2 separate regions of the Homo sapiens genome follow, and region 1 is linked to region 2. The links are contacts of gene promoters, found by promoter capture Hi-C in blood cells and fetal thymus (Javierre and others, 2016). All regions are on one chromosome and are shown on one strand. Each heading gives the region's core, a stretch centred on a gene start or on the middle of the fragment in contact. The rest is flanking DNA. Distances are from core to core; before and after follow the strand shown.

The links. The method cuts DNA at HindIII sites, captures the fragments that hold promoters and counts their contacts. A CHiCAGO score of 5 or more calls a contact.
Region 1: a contact is called between a fragment that was not itself captured here and the fragment with the promoter of RIOK2 in region 2, in 1 of 17 cell types (naive CD4 T cells). The highest score is 6.3, in naive CD4 T cells.

What each region holds. Positions count from the first base shown.
Region 1 is chr5:98,855,888-98,859,509 of GRCh38, forward strand. CHD1 (chromodomain helicase DNA binding protein 1) reads right to left here. Exons shown (of 36, transcript NM_001270.4): 34 at 3,077-3,128; 35 at 2,293-2,503; 36 at 1-838. The coding sequence ends at 493. Among named protein-coding and RNA genes, the nearest start is that of CHD1-DT, 71 kb to the right of the region's middle. The HindIII fragment of the contact is 664 bases long and covers 1,298-1,961 here.
Region 2 is chr5:97,180,671-97,184,496 of GRCh38, forward strand. RIOK2 (RIO kinase 2) reads right to left here and starts at 2,577. Exons shown (of 10, transcript NM_018343.3): 1 at 2,456-2,577. The coding sequence starts at 2,521. The HindIII fragment of the contact is 13,556 bases long and covers 1-3,826 here.

The DNA.
Region 1 (3,622 bases), core at 380-2,879, 1.7 Mb after region 2:
GCAAGGTGGTCGCAGTGTACAATGTAAACAAGTAGCTTTGGAAATGAACAAAGTCCTTGAGTGTTTTTCTTTATTAAGAAAGAACTCTCTTTCATTCCTTCCTGAAACATGATCACAGGTCAGAGTAAAGTTCATATATAAACATAATTTAAATGGAGGTCAGTCTAAAATCACTGACTTAAAAACAGTTTTATCCAGCCTGTATGGGAGGGCAGTGTTGAGGTCCCTGTAATAGTAAACATTTTCCATTTCTTTAAAAAAGAAAACAAAAAAAAGTACTACAATTTTGTAGTACAGTGCAGCATAATCCTTAAATATAAAAATATTTTCTCTTCTGTTGGGATAATAGACCTTGCATCCTGGAAAGAAGTAACAATACTGCTACTGATAGAAGATCTGTTTATATCTTTCAAGTCATGTAAGGCAATTACTGTGTTGGTTTATGATATATGGCTAAAAGAAAAGTCCAGAAAGACGAAGTATCAGTTTTTGTTATGTTTTCCGACTACTCCAGGTATGCTCCGGTGTACTTTTGTGTTCAACTGAATGTTCAAATGGAGATCTGGAGCCATAAGGAGATCTCTGATCTAGTGGTGACCTAGGGCCACTGCTGGAAGCTCTGTGGTCCATTTGCCAGTCTGAGTGATACCTATAATCCCTGGAAGATTTATGGTGCGTATATTCAGAACTTGACCGGTGGTCTGAATGTAACCGATGATCTGAGTGAGAACGATGATCAGAATGAGATCTATCTTTTAAACTTCCTTCCAAATTTGACCTGTGATCTCTACTCCTGTGATCATCCAGTTTTCTGTGTTTCTCTCTGTCACTGTAATATCTAATAAAGAAAAATTGAGAATTTTAGACAAATCATGCAAATTAAAATGTTTCCAAATAAAAGATAACTAAAAAACATAAAAATACCTTAAAACATGTTTTTAATTGTATAGAAATTCAGTGTTGCATTATAAAACTTACTTAATTAACTCAAAAATCACTGGATATATCTCTTTGGAAAAACTATTTGATTCATAAAACTAAAGCGAACCATACAAAACCCCTAAAATAGCATCTAATTTCACATGGCTATTTTAGATAATTAGCTGCTTTTTATTTTACACATCATTTATATGACTGCATCTTAATTGTCTGGAAGCTGAAATTAAGATTATTACAACTATCTGAAATACTCCTGAGACCAGAGCCTTTTACCAACCTCTAAGCAGGAAAAAGTTTAAAAATGCTAGAATGCAGTCTATGCTGAAAAATTTTTCACTGGTTGCTGATGCCTATTAAAAGCTTCCTCAAGTTTGACTAGTTATATAGTAAGACTCGACACATGAATCATTACGAAATTTACTCCATACAAACATGTGACAGCTTGATAAAAAATAAATGTGGCAGTTTAATGAGAATTATTCTCTAAAATGAGTGCCTTTTCCAAACTGACACACACACAACTGTAACTATATTGCATAAGCCTGTGAAATATATACTATAAATCTGCCTTTTCCTTTTAATTATTTGACCCCTTCAAATAACAGCCATTCTACAACTGATGTGTTCATAGTGCTGACAGAGGTTCTCAAAGAAATTATTGTAATGAACACTAAAATACAAAGATGTCTTCTAATTTGTTTCTTCTACTTACTATAAAAGCATAAATACTATAAATCTCAGTTTTCAAGTTTACTTTTAGTAGTGATCATTAACTACCGAAAATACTTCTTTATCAATAAAGGAATAAAAAGTATTCTGATGTTATTACACTGAGGTTGCTTACTGTTCAAAGGCTTCAAAAAACAATAAACAAAAAACCTTCCTGGTTCCAATAATATTCCAGATTGCTGAGGTTAAGTTTTACCTCAATGAGATGTGTTCACATATATTAATTTTTCCCGACTTTTTAAAAATATGGAATGCAAAATTTCCTAAACCAAACCTGAATCACTATTATATCAAGCTTTTATCCCACTTATTATATTTTAAAGAGTATTTGAGCCAATATTCTTCAAAACGAACAATGAACCCCACGCAATTTATAATCATACAACTCCCTACATCACCTTACTACATATTTTGATCTCAATTTTATAATTCAAAATCCATTTTATAGAGAAATTCAGTTCTTAAAATATATACATTTTTCTTAATTATATACAACACCTTTATTTCACAAGATTTGTTTTGACTGCATGAAGATTGAATTGGCTGACAGGTCAAATACAGGAACATCATGATAAGGAGAAAAACATGCATAAGCAAAATTTCTAAAGTGACTGCCAAGTTTACCTGCTGTCTTGCTTGTAGTGATCCCAATCACGATGGTCTTTACCATTACTAAAAGAAGAATAGGGTCTTTTCCTGGAATCACTTTTTTTGTAAGAATCTCCCTGATGTCGGTCTTTATGATGATCATGGTACTGAGTTAAGTGTCTATCAGAGGAATAACTGTCCCTGCTGCTATCATCGTGATTTGTATTCTCTTTTAATCTTTCCACATCTGTTAGATAAGTACAACTTTTATTAATGACCTTAAAAATAATGTGGCAAAAAAAACTTAGTTGATAGATAACAAGAATTCGTTTCAACCCTTGCCAAAACAAAATCGGTTCCCAAATACAAGCAGTTAAAGCATTTAGAAATGGTGTATAAAAGCAGTACTAAGGATTAATTAAAAAAGGTTGCTTGATTCTGAAATGTCACAAAAACTAAAAAATATGGGACCTATTCCTTTCTCAGACTATACTTTTGTGACTCTGATACAGAAAGAATGCATTACTATTCCAAATTACATAAAAAAGAATATTTGTTCATTTTAACAGTCATTCTACAATTTCTAGAAACTGAGAAAAGGATGATTAAAAGGATAATAAACTAAAATGAACTACAGTTTAAGAGAATACATTTTACATAATAATGTAGGTATGTATCAGAATTACTGTATCTCCTTAATATAAAGGTACTTATAAATAAAAACAAGGTAAGAACCTTTTTTATCATTTGGTTTATTTAAAACAAAAATTTAAAAAAAATTTTTTTTAATTTATTTTCCCAATCAGTAAGGCTTACATACCTGGATTTCTAATCACGTGAGGATTCAAGTTGCTGTTTTGATCACTGTTTTGCTAAAATAAATGCACACGTGTTAAGAATCTTTAGGTGACTTCACAAACTTACAAAAAAGCACAGATAATTCTTAGAAAATACTGATAATGAAGTCTTCACACAAGATATTAGAATGTTTATGTGTGTATATATACATGTATGACATTTATAGATCTCCATTTTTAAAGCATGAACTACTTGTCCCATGACTTAAAGATATTTTTTCATTTTGAAATAAATTGACTTAACAGAAAGGTTGCAAAAATACTGAGTTCCCTTCATCTAGCTTCTCCTAATGTTAATATCTTATACAAACATAGTATAATGATCAAAACCAAATAATTAACATTGGTATAACACTATTAATTGAAGAACAGACTTCATTCAGATTTCACATTTTTCCACTAATGTTCTTTATCTGCTCGGGGATTCGATTTGGAAGCCCATATTACACTTAGTTGTCACGTCTTCCTCTGGGACAGCTCCTTAGTCTACTGCATGCTCTTAACACTTT
Region 2 (3,826 bases), core at 1,327-3,826:
GCAAAATCTGAGGGGGTACTCCGGAGAACTAAGACAGAAGTCCAGCTCAGAGGAAAGAGCCACCAGAACAGGGTAAGTGGTAGTGGTACTGGAAGGAAGGAATAAAAATCTTTAGGAAGTATTATGGGAGAGCTTGGCAATTAGATGTGGAAGGGTAAAGGGAACGGAAAGCCACAATTGGAAGTGATGAGGAAAAGCAAGTTTTAAGATTTTATTATTTTTTTTTTTTATAGAGCTTGGGAAAAGAGAAAGGGGGTAGAAAAAAATTGAATTTGGTTTGAGCACTGAGAGTCAAATAAAAATGTTTAAAGGAAAACTGGAGGCCAGGTGCAGTGGCTCACACCTGTAATCCCAGCACTTTGGGAGGCCAAGGTGGGTGGATCACGAGGTCAAGAGATCGAGACCATTCTGGCCAACATGGTGAAACCCCATCTCTACTAAAAATACAAAAATTAGCTGGGCGTGGTGGTGTGCGCCTATAGTCCCAGCTACTTGGGAGGCTGAGGCAGGAGAATCGCTTGAACCCAGAAGGTGAAGGTTGCAGTGAGCTGAGATTGTGCCACTGCACTCCAGCCTGGCAACAGAATAAGACTCCGTCTCAAAAAAAAAAAAAAAAGAAAGAGAGAAAATTAAATAGGAAAGGGGCCTATATTTAGGAATGAAGTTATAATTAGAAGGAAAAATTGTCAATTATTTTATAGAAGTGAGAGTTGAAGATGTGAAGTGGATGCTATCACTGAGCAGGAGATAATGGAAGAAAAGGAATGTTTGGGAGCAGAATTCTGGGGCAAGTTCATATTGAAAGCTAAGGGCAGCTAGTCAAACAATGATTATTGATATAGGAGGAGCCAAAGAAGTAAAAGGGAAGAGAGGCCCAAGAAAGGGTACCAACACTGGTGAGATTCAACTGAGACCGGAATGTCATATTTAATGACTAAGTCATTTCTTGGTGAACTTTACAAATAATTTAAATATTGCAGCGCCAATGTTTTGGAAGATAAATCTGGCATCATTTTGATGTCTCACCAAAACCTTAACTTTTAAATTTAACTTATTTTCCATGCTTTGTCTCTGCCTCCCCCGTCCTCTAACACTCTTACTTTTGACCCCTACTTCTGTCAGAGACACTAAGGAATGAGTGTGCTGAGAAAGCAGGAAAGGAAGGTATCTTTCCGAAGTGATAGTAGGTTTTCATAGAGAAAGTCCAGCTGATTAGAAGAATCTACATGAGAGGCAAAGTAAACATTGTCTTCCAAATTTCACACTGATTTTGCATTTGATAGTTTAATACTTAAGCGCTATTTAAGATTAATTTTAAAAATCCAAAACTTGAAGCCTTAACATAATGCAAGAACCAGTGTGACTCACATCGCATATCCTATTACATAATTACACAATATAGGTAGTCCTTATCATGGGGTTCACTCCTTACCAAAAGATAACGGCTCCTAAATAAATGTACAAATGTCTTGATCTATATATTAATTTCTGTGCCATAAGACTGAGGCCATAAAATCAGATTTTGTTACTCCCCTGATTAAAAACATTTAGTGGTTACCCCCACATTCTTTACCAAACCTCCAAGGCTCTGTAGTACATAATTTCTCACCTTTTCCGCTACATCTCCAACCATTAGTGTGCATCTCACTTTGCTCCAGCCACATTACATTGGCCTTTCCTCTCTTCAAAGACTTTTCTGTCTCAAGGCCTTTGCACTTACTACTGCTGTTTCCTCTGCCTCCAACTCTTTCCAAGGACTTCACTGGGCTGTCTCTTTCTCACACAGCTCCTATTATTCCCCCATTCATTCTTTCATTTAGTGAATATTTATTGATTGTCTACCAAAGGCCAATAACTTGTGCCCCTCCTCTCCACCAGATACATATACTTTCTATGCCATTATCCTTTATCATTTTCATAGCATTTATCCATTATCCTATTTTTCGTTTACTTGATGATCTGTGTCTCTCTCTCCACTTGTCTGTTTGAACAAGTGAACCTCCTAATGTTGCTACTAAAAAACCGACAAATATGTGTTGACTGAATGAATCAGAAAGACTGCTATGCGACTGAGTCTGTTAGTAGGGAAGTCAATATTATCAAATCTCGGGGGGGGGGGGGGGCTTAAACCTTTCACAGCTGGTCGGAAGCTCAGGATCAGAGAAGTTTCCAGGCCACAGAGATGCAAGCGTTTCTCTTCAGCGCAAAGCGAATAGCAGCAGAAAAGAAAACAATTATTAGAAGACGGGACCTTTGCTCTATCTGGGGGAAGGTAAGCTCCCAAACAAAACCTTTTTAAAAATCCGACTTTCTGAATGCTCTCTTCTCCATTCCCAGCTTCTGCCACGTCCCGGGTCCCAGAGTGTGCCTGCTCAGATCCCAGAAAACTTGCAGGAACAGGAAGAGGTCACACAGTGTTAAGGGGAAGGGAGAACAGGAACGGCGGGTTTCTTACCGCGGTCAAGACCCTGAAGTCATCTCGGCTCATGTAACGCAACTTGGCCACATTCACTTTCCCCATGGCGGCCCCAGTCCGAACCCAGATGCCTCTCCGACGACAGCCGCAAAGCGTAAGGCAGGTCGTTATTCCAGCCTCTAAGCGCTTTACAGCGCCAGATGGCTCGCGCACGCGCTGCGTCTTAGTATAGGTCCTTGTTAATAGTTAGAAGTGCTGTTCTCATTGATATAGGAAAATAAAACTACTTGTATGTCTTATGAAACACATAGTATGTAACAAGTGAACGTTTTATTTTTGTGTAATTTTTGCGTTGTGACTGAGTTGGCGGAGTGTAGATATTCTCTACAATGTGCCTTTTTTTTTCCATATCTGTCAGGACTTGCTGCCTCAATGACACGTTCCGCCTCAGAGAGCAAAGTGGTTACTTAATGGGAGGAGCAAATTTTTCCCGCAAACAACTTCTACTCTAGGCAAAGTGACTTCCAACAAGACAGGGGTAAAAGAACCTGAGCTAGAGTCCAGACAACCAAATCTGTTAAAGGTAAAGTGGACTGTAATCACACAAGCACGCCCTCTACTCCTAATTGCGCCTGCTCCGGCAGCTCCGGAGGGCGTGGTTAATGGAACTCATGCGCTTGCTCAGTACTTCTCTTAGGTTGGTCTAGGAGGCTTCGAAGTGCGCCTGCGCTGGTTGGGGTGGGAGTTTAAGGTGACACGTGGAGAGCGCGGCGGACGTCCTTACCTCCAGAGGAAGTGGGGATTTTGATAGTTCGGGCTGACCTACGCGGGTAGGACTTCGAGGGCCCAGGAGCGATTTAAGGATTTTAGAATAGTTACCCATACTGGCTCTGCAACTCCTCGATATTCAAGCCTTTGTCTGCTTTTTACTTGAATGCAGCATGTCTTTGATTAACCATCTTCAACCAATGAACATCTCCATTTAAACGGAATTTTTCTTTCTGTACTTACATAAGAAGGCATAGAAATGAATTTTTTTTTTATTTTTGAGACAGAGCCCGGCTCTGTCACCCAGACTGAAGTACAGGGGCGCGATCTTGGCTCACTGCAACCTCTGCCCTCTAGGTTCAAGGGATTCTTCTCCCTCAGCCTCCTAAGTAGCTGGGATTATAGGCTCACACCACCACGCCCTGCTAATATTTTTATTTTTAGTAGAGATGGGGTTTCGCCCTGTTGACCAGACTGGTTTCAAACTCCTGGCCTCAGGTGATCCGCCCCCCTCAGTCTCCCAAAGTGCTGGGATTACAGGCATAAGCCACCGCGCCTGGGCGAAAAGTTTTTAAAAAAACCAAGTGACTAACTTTATTTGTACAAATTTATGGGGTACGTGAGAAATTTTGTTACAAGTAT